Linked DNA regions of Homo sapiens: regions 2 and 3 are each linked to region 1. Evidence: promoter capture Hi-C in human tissues and cell types (Jung and others, 2019). All regions are on one chromosome and are shown on one strand. Each heading gives the region's core, a stretch centred on a gene start or on the middle of the fragment in contact. The rest is flanking DNA. Distances are from core to core; before and after follow the strand shown.

What was found. Contacts are between HindIII fragments. The study calls those that stand out against the background at their distance.
Region 2: the fragment with the promoter of ATP1B2 here is called in contact with the fragment with the promoter of ZBTB4 in region 1 in 1 of the 25 tissues and cell types used here (mesenchymal stem cells).
Region 3: a fragment that was not itself captured here is called in contact with the fragment with the promoter of ZBTB4 in region 1 in 1 of the 25 tissues and cell types used here (adrenal gland).

The regions. Positions count from the first base shown.
Region 1 is chr17:7,476,928-7,481,366 of GRCh38, reverse strand. It overlaps ZBTB4 (zinc finger and BTB domain containing 4), which reads left to right and starts at 1,736. Exons shown (of 4, transcript NM_001128833.2): 1 at 1,736-1,911. RefSeq lists silencers at 1,380-1,639, 1,660-2,119, 2,380-2,429. The HindIII fragment of the contact is 10,425 bases long and covers 1-4,147 here.
Region 2 is chr17:7,649,119-7,653,581 of GRCh38, reverse strand. It overlaps ATP1B2 (ATPase Na+/K+ transporting subunit beta 2), which reads right to left and starts at 2,656. Exons shown (of 7, transcript NM_001678.5): 1 at 1,952-2,656; 2 at 80-208. The coding sequence starts at 2,063. RefSeq lists enhancers at 2,086-2,728, 3,003-3,503, 3,504-4,004 and a silencer at 2,597-2,746. The HindIII fragment of the contact is 20,754 bases long and covers 1-4,463 here.
Region 3 is chr17:7,670,944-7,674,895 of GRCh38, reverse strand. It overlaps TP53 (tumor protein p53), which reads left to right. Exons shown (of 11, transcript NM_000546.6): 6 at 1-37; 7 at 606-715; 8 at 1,059-1,195; 9 at 1,288-1,361. Among named protein-coding and RNA genes, the nearest start is that of TP53, 15 kb to the left of the region's middle. The HindIII fragment of the contact is 4,764 bases long and covers 1-3,632 here.

The DNA.
Region 1 (4,439 bases), core at 487-2,986:
CTGCTTCTTTTCTTTCTTTCTTTCTTTTTTTGTTTGCGACGAAGTTTCCACTCTTGTTATCCAGGCTGGAGTGCAATGGTGTGATCTCATCTCACTGCAACCTCCACCTCCCAGATTCAAGCGATTCTCCTGCCTCAGCCTCCCAAGTAGCTGGGATTACAAGAATGTGCCACTACACCTGGCTAATTTTTTTTTTTTTTTTTGGGACGGAGTTTTGCTCTTCTTGCCCAGGCTGGAGTGCAGTGGTGCGTGCAATCTCGGCTCACCGCAACCTCCACCTCCTGGGTTCAAGCAATTCTCCTACCTCATCCTCCCAAGTACCTGGGATTACAGGCATGTGCCACCACACCCCGCTAATTTTTTATTTTTCGTAGAGATGGGGTTTCTCCATGTTGGCCATGCTGGTCTTGAACTCCTTACCTCAAGTGATCCACCCCACCACCCCCCGCCTCCCAAAGTGGTGGAATTACAGGCATGAGCCACCGTGCCCAGCCCAACTCTGCTTCTTTTCTATTTATGTCTCCATGACTCCAAAGTTTGTCTGATTCTTTTATTCTTTTTATGGCTAGCTCTGTGGCTTTACATTAATTTGTTTATTTATATCTTGCATGGTTTCAGAGAGGTTTTTTTGTTGTTGTTTTTTTTTTGAGACGGAGTCTGTCTCTGTCGCCCAGGCTGGAGTGCAGTGGCGAGATCTCGGCTCACTGCAAGCTCCGCCTCCCAGGTTCACGCCATTCTCCTGCCTCAGCCTCCCGAGTAGCTGGGACCACAGGCGCCCGCCACCACGCCCGGCTAATTTTTTTGTATTTTTAGTAGAGACAGGGTTTCACCGTGTTAGCCAGGATGGTCTCGATCTCCTGACCTCGTGATCCGCCCACCTCGGCCTCCCAAAGTGCTGGGATTACAGGCGTGAGCCACCGCGCCCAGCCTCAGAGAGGTTTTAAGGCAAGGAGCTGTGAACCCTGGCTCCTCCATCTCCTTAGTTTTTAATTTTCCAGCACCAGGGAGGAGTTCTTGGGATTGTCCCTGTGGAGTTTCAGGAATGTGTTTTTTCTGTGTGTGCTTCCACCTGGTGTTTTGTTGATGCTGTCCCCAGAGGCCGACACCAAGGCCTCTGCATTTATGTTCAAGTATACAGATGTGGATCTATCTGCTGGTGGGGACAAAGTACCCAGCCAGCTTCATGTGTTCATTTGCGCTGGTGGTCGTTCGTGTGTGCCCCGTATGCAGGGCCAGGGCCTTCTTTTTCCGCGGCCTGCTGAGCTTTCCTGCGCATTCCTGGAGAGGGTGTGTGTGTGTGTCCAGGGCTGGCCCTCTTTGAGTGTGCCGACCCTGGGTCTGTGAGTCCCACCGGGCCTGATTATGAGTCTGCCATGTCATGTCTGCACCCTGAGAGCCTGTGTGTTATGCTTTCAGGCAGTGTGCACCGCTGAGTGAAGGGCGTGCAGGAGGAAGGGCGGAGGGAGCCCTTTCCCTGGGGGTCGGTGGTCTTGCGCCCCTGCCGGGATGCTGCAGCCCGGCCCGCGCCCCGCTCGGTGTCCACCCGCCCGGTGGCCCAGCGCGGCGCAGTGTCATGCCGCGGGGGTCAGTCCTGGGGAAGGCCGTCGGGCGCTCGGAGCTTTGTGTCGGTGTCGGCTGCGCTGCGCCGGCCTCCTCTCGGCGGCGGCGGCGGCGGCGCTGGGGGGGGACTGTTTCCGGGGGTGGGGGTGGGGGTAGGACCGGGGCGGGGGGAGCCGATGATGTCAGCGGCGGCGGCGGCGGCGGCAGCGGGGCCGGGCCGGGGCCAGGCGCTGGGGGGGCCAGGGCCGGAGCTGGAGCCGGAGCCGGAGCTGGAGGCGGGCAAAACCGGAGCGGCCGGGGGCGGCCACGGTGATGAGCCGGGCCTGGCGGACGCGGCGCCATCGCAGTCAGGTGGGCCCTGGGGCGAACTGGGCAGGGCCAGGGCGGACCGGAGCCAACTGCCAGGCCCCCTCTCCGCTGCCCGGCGCTGCGGGAGCCCCGACCGCGCCCCGCGCCCAGACCGCTCTCCTTTGGGGTTGACCTGGGGGCGCAGGGGTCGGGGGCTGAGCCTGGCCCCGCCCCCGGGCGCGCACGACGCTGGGGGGCGACTAAGGGGGCCCTGGTATGGCGTCCGAGCGAGGGGCGGCCGTGGGACGCGATCGCCTGGGGCCGTGGAAGGGGAGGTGCTCACTCCCTCTTTGAAGGGTTAATTCTGCAGCCTAATGGCCCCCTCCCCCCGTGGGGCAGATTGGGGGTGGGGTGGGGCGGGTGTGAGCCCGGGCAAGCGCTGCAAGCTGCTGGGAGGGTGATGGCGTAGGAGCCAGGCAGAGAGGGGGAGGGGTGGGCCGCCGAGCGCCCCAGAGTTGGGGTGTGCGGGGTGCGCAGGGCGAGCTGGGGCCCCGGAACCGCCGCGCCGTCGGGGCAGGGTTGTGGCTGTGAGTCTTGGAGATCGTGTGTCTTGTGCTGTGTGGTGGGGCAAGGTAAACCTCTCCTGGGCACCACCGTTTGCTGGCAGCCAGGGGTCTGGGTAGGGCCCTCCCTGGGCCATGGAGATAGAAAGCCAGGAAGGGTGTCCAGTGTTGTGGGGCAGAGTTACAAGACGAGCCCTGTGGCTTTGGGTGACAGATGGGTATTCTGAGCAGGGCACAGCATGCTGGGTGCAGAGTTTGTTCGATGTGGGGCTGTATGTTTTCTACAGCATGTGTTTTCTCGCATGTGTGTCTTGTGCTGCACCTATGACCTGTTTATGAACTGTTTTCTGCAGAGCTGGCATGCTGTATGTGTTGCGGAGGGTGCCAGGATGCAGTGTATGTGCCCTTTTGGAGGGGGCGGTTGTGGGCCTTTGAGTCAGAAGGCGTCACGTCTGGGTCCCATTTCTGTGGCCCTGCTGAGGTGTGGTCCAGTGGTGAAGAGGGCGATGGATGGGTTTGCGTGTCTGTGATGAGCGCGTTGCATGGGGGCTGCGCGTCTAGAACTCAGATCCCAAAGATCATGAGAGGAGCGAGGAACCCCGGGGTATGTCTCAGGGGCCTGTGGGTCAGTTGGCACTGGTGTGAGGGGCTCGAGGTGGAATGCGCCAGTTGTGTTTATGGGATCATGGGCAGCCAAGCGAGGGGAAGGTTGTGTGTTTGCAACATTCTCCACAGGATTCTTTTGTGACGTTGTTTGTAGGAGCCTGTCTGGGCTGCTGAGCTGGGAGGCAAACTGGTCAGAAAACACATGTGGGGAGGGAGGTGGCGTGACAAGGGCAGTGTGGGCCTCAGACCCAAGAGGCCAGCCGCAAGCAGGCTGTGTGTGCGTGCCTGCCGTCTGTGTGCTTAAGTGGCGGTGGGGCTGCGGAGGGGATTTGGTATGAGGAAGGCGGGAGATAAATGCAGGGTAGCGCATGGAGGCCGGCGGGAGGCATGGGTGTTGTCAGATGGCCCAGCTAATCTTTGCAGGGTCTGTATGTTTGCCCCTCATGAGCCTGCCCAGCGTGTCAGGGTCACCCGGAGGAGAGGCTGGGCGGCCACAAGGGAAGTAAGCTTAGACAGAGAGGCTCCTTGGCCATGTTTATGTAAAGGCTGGGTGTGACTCTTGTCACTAAAATGGAAAAAAGAAACGTGAAGTTTTCAGCCTCCTCCTGCTTCACCCTCTCCCTCTCTCTGCCCCCCTTGTGGGTATCTCTGACGCACACTGGGCCCCACTCCTGCGACGGTGGAAGGGCCTCAGAACAGAATTCGCTCACTAGGCAGATTCCTCAGAACAGGTTTTCCTCACCTTTGGGGACTGGGCCCTTCTAGGGGTGTGTGTGCAAGTGCATTCCAAGCCTGCACACCACTGTCTACTGTGCCCGGCCCCACTGGAAGGATGTGTGTACGTGGGGGAAGGGAGGGTGCTGCGGACAGGCCCTCCGGCATGGGGGGCTGGGAAGGGGTGGCTGCCGTGGGAGCCTGCTCAACAGGTGCACAGTGACGGTCTGGTGAAGAGAAAGGAGCCATGGTCCAGGGCTGAGGAGCTCTGGCGTCTTTACCATTCCCTCACTGGCACTTGATCTGAAGGAAGCTCAGTTCCTCATCTGCAGAATGGGGCTGATTGTCTGCCCTGCGTATCTTCCAAAAGCACATGGGAAACGGACCCGGAAAGTGGCTATAGTCTGGGGGCTGTGCCTATGCCAGCCCCTGTCAGCCCTCCCCCAGGACTGGGAATTCCCTTCTTGGGGCTTCGCTGATAATAATGGCAGCACACACTTGCTTAGCACTGACCGTGCACCAGCCTGTCCTCAGGGCACTTATATGTGGCCACTCTGTCCTCAGAACAACACCCTGAAGTAGGCACTCTACCTCCCTTTTTCAAGTGAGGCAGCTGAGGTCCAGAGAAGTTAAGTAATCTGCCCCAAGTCACTTAGCTAGTAAGAGGTGAAGCTGTATTTGAACCCGGGCAATCAGGTTGAAGATCTT
Region 2 (4,463 bases), core at 1,407-3,906, 170 kb before region 1:
AGGAACTATGAGTTCCTTCTGGAGGTTTGGGGGCACAAGAGCAGTTAGAGTAGCTGGCAGGGGGAGCCTCCACACTCACCCGGTGTGGCCAGTCGGTCCTGGTACTTGGGGGTATGGTCGGAGACAGTCTGCAGCATCACCCACATGGTGAGGGTGAACATGGCGGTGAGGAACCCATAAAAAACGAGGTAGAAGAGGAGGATAAAGGCTAGGGAGGAGGAAACAGGGTCAGCAGGGCCCAAGGTTCCCACCATAACCTCAACTATCCCCACACACCCCTCTACCCACTCTGAAGTTCTGCACTGGGACTGATCACAGAGCCACAGGGATGTCTTAGAGCCTTCCTCTGGAGGCAAAATGAGACAAACTGGAAACAGGCAGTTGTGTCTGGCTTCTAGCCATGACTCCCAGCCCCCTCCTGGTCCTAGGGCACAGTGAAGCCCGACCTTGTGGAGGTCTGTTATTTTGCCTCCAATTACATTTCCAACTTCTCAACCATGCATAGTCCTGACAAGGCACACATCTGTTACCTCTGCATTCGTACTCATGCTTAAAGCTGTGCTAGCATGGTGCCTTTTAAAGCGGGTACTGGCCACCATTCACAAGCAAACCCTCATACCACCCCGCAGAGACTGGACCCTCAGATTTGAATAGCAACATCTCTCTCCTGGTGCCCTTCAGAAGCCAAACTTTGAACACAGTTCCTGAAATGAAAGACCTAACACTAGCCTAGCTACAAATCTCTCAGAGACGGCTTGTTAGAACCTTCAACAGTCACCCCACCCTCAGTTCACACCCAGCACCCTGGGCAGAGGCAGGGAGGAAAGGCAGAATCTCCCACAGCCTTCCCTTGGTGGGATCTCTCCATGGCTCCCCCGCCTGAAGTAAGGACCCAAGGGCCGGCTGTTCCCACCACCCTGGACTCCCAATCCTTCCATCTCAGAGGACACTTCTTCCATGAAGTCCTCTGGCTCTCCCAAGCATTGCTGGATTCTTCTCATCCCAGGGGCTGGAGTTTGAGTTCCCTGAGGGAATGGATTGCATGGGACCCACTTCGTGTAGGCCCCGAATGGGTGGACTGATGGGGACGGTGCCCAGTGTGGAAAGATTGTAAATCGTGTCACACAGTGTCCTCTGTCCCCTGTGTCTCAACGTCCCAGCTTGACCATCCCTCTTGGAAGAATTCCACCCCTCACCTGCACCTGTGCCGGTCACCAGACCCCCTCCACCCCCCCAACCCCCGACCACTACAGCTCCCTGAGTCCTGCCATGGTCAGCCTGGGGAGGCTTCCAAGTCATCCGACTGTCACAGACACCTGGCTGGCTGATGCACACAAATCACCACAGCGACCACTCCTCCCTCCGTCACCGACATGGGAGCAAAACCTGCAGCCTCGGTAAAACTCATACTATCAGCAGCCCCCCAACCCACAAAGCAGTCCCAGAAGGCTCCCAAGGCCAGGCGGTGGGATACAGACAACTTCCGCCGTGAAGAACCCCCCTAACACACCCCCCAAGACCCGCCCCCTCATGAACGTTCCCAGGGTCCAGGGGGTGGGCACGAGCTAAAAATAGACGGGGCTGCGGAGCTAGTGAGAGCCGGAGGGAGGGAAGGGGCGCTCTTTGGAGGTGGGGGACGCCCGTGTGGAGCGGACAGGCCCCGAGAGGGAGTGTGAGCGCCGGCGCGGACACGCAGGCGGAGCTGGCGACCCCCCGCCCGAGGGGGCTCCGCGGGGGGCGGGAAGGCGGCTGTGACCTACTTTCTCCGCCTCCGCACGGCCAGCCGGGGAGATTAGACTGGCGATTCGGCCCCCTCCCAGCCCAGAGCCCGGCAGGGAGGCTGGACGCCGGGGACCCGGGAGGGGAGCTGGGGCCGCGTCGGCGGGACCCTGCGCCCCCGAGGCGTCGCCCCGCGGCTTTCCCCCGCCCCTTGCGTGCCGGCCCTGCGTACCCCAGCTGGTCCCGGTGCGGCCCATAAACTGGTGCGTCCTCGGGTTCCACACGAACTCCTTCCACTCCTCAACCACCTGCCCGCAGCTCTTCTTCTCTTTCTGGATGACCATCTTGGTGGCGCGGGGCGAGTCCGGGCGCGGGGCGGGGGGTTGCGGAGAAGCGGGGGCGCCGCGCGCTGAAGCCCTCCACACACCCAAAAGCACGGGGAGCGAAGGCGGCGCGGGCAAAGGAGACCCCCCTCAGATATGCAGCTGCTGCAGATTCCGGGGTGCACGACCACGCGCTGCGGGGTGCTGGCAGCGCGGCGGAAGATGCACCGATCCTAGGCCCCCCAACTGCGATGAAAAGGGGTGCTGTCAGAGCAGGGGAGAATAACAAGAGGAAGGGGTATGAATGCAGCTTCACCCCCCACCAAACCGTCTAGAAACAAAACGAAATGGGGTGCAAAAACAGACGGCTACAAAAACCGAGCAGAACGCAGAAAAAAAGCGGGGTACAAAAAGGCAGAGAGAGGTGGGGGAGGGGGCCGCCCCGAAATCCAAGATGCAAAGAAGCTGTGGAACGAAGCTCAAGGCTCGCTCCGCCAAGCGGAGACCACTGCACCGGTGGTGGCTCAGCCGCGGGGGTGGGGCGGGGACGCGCAGCTGGGGGACAGCCAGGGATGGGGGGCCCCCCAGGCGGAGGCTCCGCTCCTCAGCAGTGCGAGGCCCGCGGTCGCCGAGCGCGGTCTTTATACTCTGCGGCTCTGGGGGTGCCCGCCCCCTTCCCACCCCCAGAAGCTCCGCCTCCTCGCCACTGGCCCAGGCGACCTCATACATATGTAAATATGGAGAGGTTGGGCCCGCCCCCCTGACTTCTCTTAGGGACCTAGCTGTCTCTCCATTACCCCCACCCCAGGTACTAGACTGGGACAGGGTGGGAGGAAGAGATAGAGGGCGTGTCCGGGCGGAGTAGAGGGAAAGATAACCCCAGAGAAACACAACGGCAGAGAGAGAAGCCGATATATGCTCAAAGGTGGGGGCCCCAGGCAGGGAGTTAGAAAGAGACTAAGATACAGATGCGGCGGAAGAGTCCGGGAGCAGATGGGGCAGAATGTCAGAGGAATAAAGAGCTAGAGATCAAGAAAGAGAGCGAAGAGACCAGCCGGGAGGCTGGCCGAGCCAGGAGGGAAGCTAGGACAGGCCCCGCAGAGATGGATAAAGGCCACCCCCAGAGGGACGTTCCCCTGTTGGGAGCCGCTACCAGTCCCCCAGACGCCTCCTTCTCCAATCTCACAGCCCCTGTCCACACCACCTGGCTCTGTCCACGTGCAGAGGCTTCCCCATCTTCCCATCACGTCTCCCTGAAGCCCTCTCAACACCACATTCCCAGTCCCCAGCACTGCCCTGAGATCCCAGCCCTGCAGCCAGGTCTACTTCGGTTCTCTGCCTCCTGGCACCCCCACCCCCACGTCGGAACTCACCTCCTTATGTGTCTACTTGGGTCAACAAACATTTATTGAGCACCTCTATAGACTGTGTGCTGTAGCCCTGGGGAGGCCAGAGAGGTTACACTGAAGCCACATCTCTCACGGGGCTCACAGTCTAGGGCGGGAGTACACTTGCTCTACATACCACATGTTAAGAATCATTATCTCAAGCCGGGCACGGTGGCTTATGCCTGTAATCCCAGCATTTTGGGAGGCCGAGGCGGGCAGATCACGAAGTCAGGAGTTCGAGACTAGCCTTGCCCACATGGTGAAACCCCGTCTCTACTTAAAAATGCAAAATTAGGCCAGGCGCGGTGGCTCACGCCAGTAATCCCAGCACTTTGGGAGGCCGAGGTGGGTGGATCACGAGGTCAGGAGATCGAGACCATCCTGGATAACACAGTGAAACCCCGTCCCTACTAAAAATACAAAAAAAAAAAATTAGCTGGGCGTCGTGGCGGGAGCTTGTAGTCCCAGCTACTTGGGAGGCTGAGGCAGGAGAATGGCATGAACCCGGGAGGCGGAGCTTGCAGTGAGCCGAGATCGCTCCACTGCACTCCAGCCTGGGCAACAGAGCTTCCGTCTCAATAAAAAAAAAAAAAAAAATTAGCTGGGCATGGTGGTGGGTGCCTGTAGTCCCAGCTACTCAGGAGGCTGAAGCAGGAGAATTGCTTGAACCCGGGAGGCGGAGCTTGCAGTGAGCTGAGATCACGCCATTGCACTCCAGCTTGGGCAATAGAGTGAGACTTCGTCTCAAAAAAAGAGAGAAAAAAAAAATCATTATCTCGGCCAGGCCCAGTGGCTCATGCCTGTAATCCCAGCTCTATAGGAGGCCGAGGCCAATGGATCACCTGAGCAAGGGAGTTCGAGACCAGAGGTCAGGAGTTCAAGACCAGCCTGGCCAACATGGTGAAACTGCGTCTCTACTAAAACTAAAAAAATTAGCCGGGTGCGGTGGTGGGAGCCTGTAATCCCAGCTACTCAGGAGGCTGAGGCAAGAGAATTGCTTGAACCTGGAAGGTGGAGGTTGCAGTGAGCCGAG
Region 3 (3,952 bases), core at 1-2,500, 190 kb before region 1:
TCGACATAGTGTGGTGGTGCCCTATGAGCCGCCTGAGGTCTGGTTTGCAACTGGGGTCTCTGGGAGGAGGGGTTAAGGGTGGTTGTCAGTGGCCCTCCAGGTGAGCAGTAGGGGGGCTTTCTCCTGCTGCTTATTTGACCTCCCTATAACCCCATGAGATGTGCAAAGTAAATGGGTTTAACTATTGCACAGTTGAAAAAACTGAAGCTTACAGAGGCTAAGGGCCTCCCCTGCTTGGCTGGGCGCAGTGGCTCATGCCTGTAATCCCAGCACTTTGGGAGGCCAAGGCAGGCGGATCACGAGGTTGGGAGATCGAGACCATCCTGGCTAACGGTGAAACCCCGTCTCTACTGAAAAATACAAAAAAAAATTAGCCGGGCGTGGTGCTGGGCACCTGTAGTCCCAGCTACTCGGGAGGCTGAGGAAGGAGAATGGCGTGAACCTGGGCGGTGGAGCTTGCAGTGAGCTGAGATCACGCCACTGCACTCCAGCCTGGGCGACAGAGCGAGATTCCATCTCAAAAAAAAAAAAAAAAGGCCTCCCCTGCTTGCCACAGGTCTCCCCAAGGCGCACTGGCCTCATCTTGGGCCTGTGTTATCTCCTAGGTTGGCTCTGACTGTACCACCATCCACTACAACTACATGTGTAACAGTTCCTGCATGGGCGGCATGAACCGGAGGCCCATCCTCACCATCATCACACTGGAAGACTCCAGGTCAGGAGCCACTTGCCACCCTGCACACTGGCCTGCTGTGCCCCAGCCTCTGCTTGCCTCTGACCCCTGGGCCCACCTCTTACCGATTTCTTCCATACTACTACCCATCCACCTCTCATCACATCCCCGGCGGGGAATCTCCTTACTGCTCCCACTCAGTTTTCTTTTCTCTGGCTTTGGGACCTCTTAACCTGTGGCTTCTCCTCCACCTACCTGGAGCTGGAGCTTAGGCTCCAGAAAGGACAAGGGTGGTTGGGAGTAGATGGAGCCTGGTTTTTTAAATGGGACAGGTAGGACCTGATTTCCTTACTGCCTCTTGCTTCTCTTTTCCTATCCTGAGTAGTGGTAATCTACTGGGACGGAACAGCTTTGAGGTGCGTGTTTGTGCCTGTCCTGGGAGAGACCGGCGCACAGAGGAAGAGAATCTCCGCAAGAAAGGGGAGCCTCACCACGAGCTGCCCCCAGGGAGCACTAAGCGAGGTAAGCAAGCAGGACAAGAAGCGGTGGAGGAGACCAAGGGTGCAGTTATGCCTCAGATTCACTTTTATCACCTTTCCTTGCCTCTTTCCTAGCACTGCCCAACAACACCAGCTCCTCTCCCCAGCCAAAGAAGAAACCACTGGATGGAGAATATTTCACCCTTCAGGTACTAAGTCTTGGGACCTCTTATCAAGTGGAAAGTTTCCAGTCTAACACTCAAAATGCCGTTTTCTTCTTGACTGTTTTACCTGCAATTGGGGCATTTGCCATCAGGGGGCAGTGATGCCTCAAAGACAATGGCTCCTGGTTGTAGCTAACTAACTTCAGAACACCAACTTATACCATAATATATATTTTAAAGGACCAGACCAGCTTTCAAAAAGAAAATTGTTAAAGAGAGCATGAAAATGGTTCTATGACTTTGCCTGATACAGATGCTACTTGACTTACGATGGTGTTACTTCCTGATAAACTCGTCGTAAGTTGAAAATATTGTAAGTTGAAAATGGATTTAATACACCTAATCTAAGGAACATCATAGCTTAGCCTAGCCTGCTTTTTTTTTTTTTTTTTTTGGAGACAGAGTCTCACTCTGTCACCCAGGCTGGAGTGCAGTGGCGGGATCTCGGCTCACTGCAACCTCCGCCTTCTGGGTTCAAGCGATTCTCCTGCCTCAGCCCACTGAGTAGCTGGGATTACAGGCACCTGCCCCGACGCCCAGCTAATTTTTTGTTATTTATTTATTTTTTTTTTTAGTAGAGATGAGGTTTCACCATGTTGGCCAGGCTAGTCTCGAACTCCTGACCTTGTGATCTGCCTGCCTTGGCCTCCCAAAGTGCTGGGATTACAGGCGTGAGCCACCGCACCCGGCCTGCCTAGCCTACTTTTATTTTATTTTTAATGGAGACAGCATCTTGCTCTGTTGCCCAGGCTGGATTACAGTGATGTGATCATAGCTCATTATACCCTCCTGGGCTCAAGCAATCCCCCTAACTCTGCCTCCCCAGTAGCTAGGACCACAGGCATACACCACCATACCCAGCTAATTTTTAAAATTTTTTGTAGATAGATAGAGTCTCACTATGTTGCCCAGGCTGGTCTCTAGCCTACTTTTTTGAGACAAGGTCTTGCTCTGTCACCCAGGCTGGATAGAGTGCAGTAGTGCAGTCACAGCTCACTGCAGCCTCCACCTCCCAGGCTCCATCCATCCTCCCAGCTCAGCCTCCCAAGTTGCTTCAACTACAGGCCTGCACCACCATGCCTGGCTAATTTTTATTTATTTATTTTTATTTTATTTTATTTTATTTTTTTGAGACTCAGTCTCACTCTGTCGCCCAGGCTGGAGTGCAGTGGCATGATCTCGGCTCACTGCAACCTCTGCCTCCTGGGTTCAAGTGATTCTCCTGCCTCAGCCTCCCGAATAGCTAGGACTACAAGCGCCTGCTACCACGCCCAGCTAATTTTTGTATTTTTAGTAGAGACAGGGTTTCACCATGTTGGCCAGGCTGGTCTCGAACTTCTGACCATGTGATCCGCCCGCCTCGGCCTCCCAAAGTGCTGGGATTACAGGTGTGAGCCACCACGCCCGGCTAATTTTTATTTATTTATTTAAAGACAGAGTCTCACTCTGTCACTCAGGCTAGAGTGCAGTGGCACCATCTCAGCTCACTGCAGCCTTGACCTCCCTGGGCTCCGGTGATTTCACCCTCCCAAGTAGCTAGGACTACAGGCACATGCCACGACACCCAGCTAATTTTTTATTTTCTGTGAAGTCAAGGTCTTGCTACGTTGCCCATGCTGGTATCAAACCCCTGGGCTCAATCAATCCTTCCACCTCAGCCTCCCCAAGTATTGGGGTTACAGGCATGAGCTACCACACTCAGCCCTAGCCTACTTGAAACGTGTTCAGAGCATTTAAGTTACCCTACAGTTGGGCAAAGTCATCTAACACAAAGCCCTTTTTATAGTAATAAAATGTTGTATATCTCATGTGATTTATTGAATATTGTTACTGAAAGTGAGAAACAGCATGGTTGCATGAAAGGAGGCACAGTCGAGCCAGGCACAGCCTGGGCGCAGAGCGAGACTCAAAAAAAGAAAAGGCCAGGCGCACTGGCTCACGCCTGTAATCCCAGCATTTCGGGAGGCTGAGGCGGGTGGATCACCTGAGGTCAGGAGTTCAAGACCAGCCTAGCCAACATGGTGAAACCCCGTCTCTACTAAAATACAAAAATTAACCGGGCGTGATGGCAGGTGCCTGTAATCCCAGCTACTTGGGAGGCTGAGGCAGGAGAATCGCTTGAACCAGGAGGCGGAGGTTGCAGGGAGCCAAGATGGCGCCACTGCACTCCAGCCTGGGCGATAGAGTGAGACTCCGTCTCAGAAAAAAAAGAAAAGAAACGAGGCACAGTCGCATGCACATGTAGTCCCAGTTACTTGAGAGGCTAAGGCAGGAGGATCTCTTGAGCCCAAGAGTTTGAGTCCAGCCTGAACAACATAGCAAGACATCATCTCTAAAATTTAAAAAAGGGCCGGGCACAGTGGCTCACACCTGTAATCCCAGCACTTTGGGAGGTGGAGGTGGGTAGATCACCTGACGTCAGGAGTTGGAAACCAGCCTGGCTAACATGGTGAAGCCCCATCTCTACTAAAAACACAAAAATTAGCCAGGTGTGGTAGCACACGCCTGTAGTCCCAGCTACTCGGGAGGCTGAGGCACAAGAATCACTTGAACCCCAGAGGCGGAGATTGCAATCA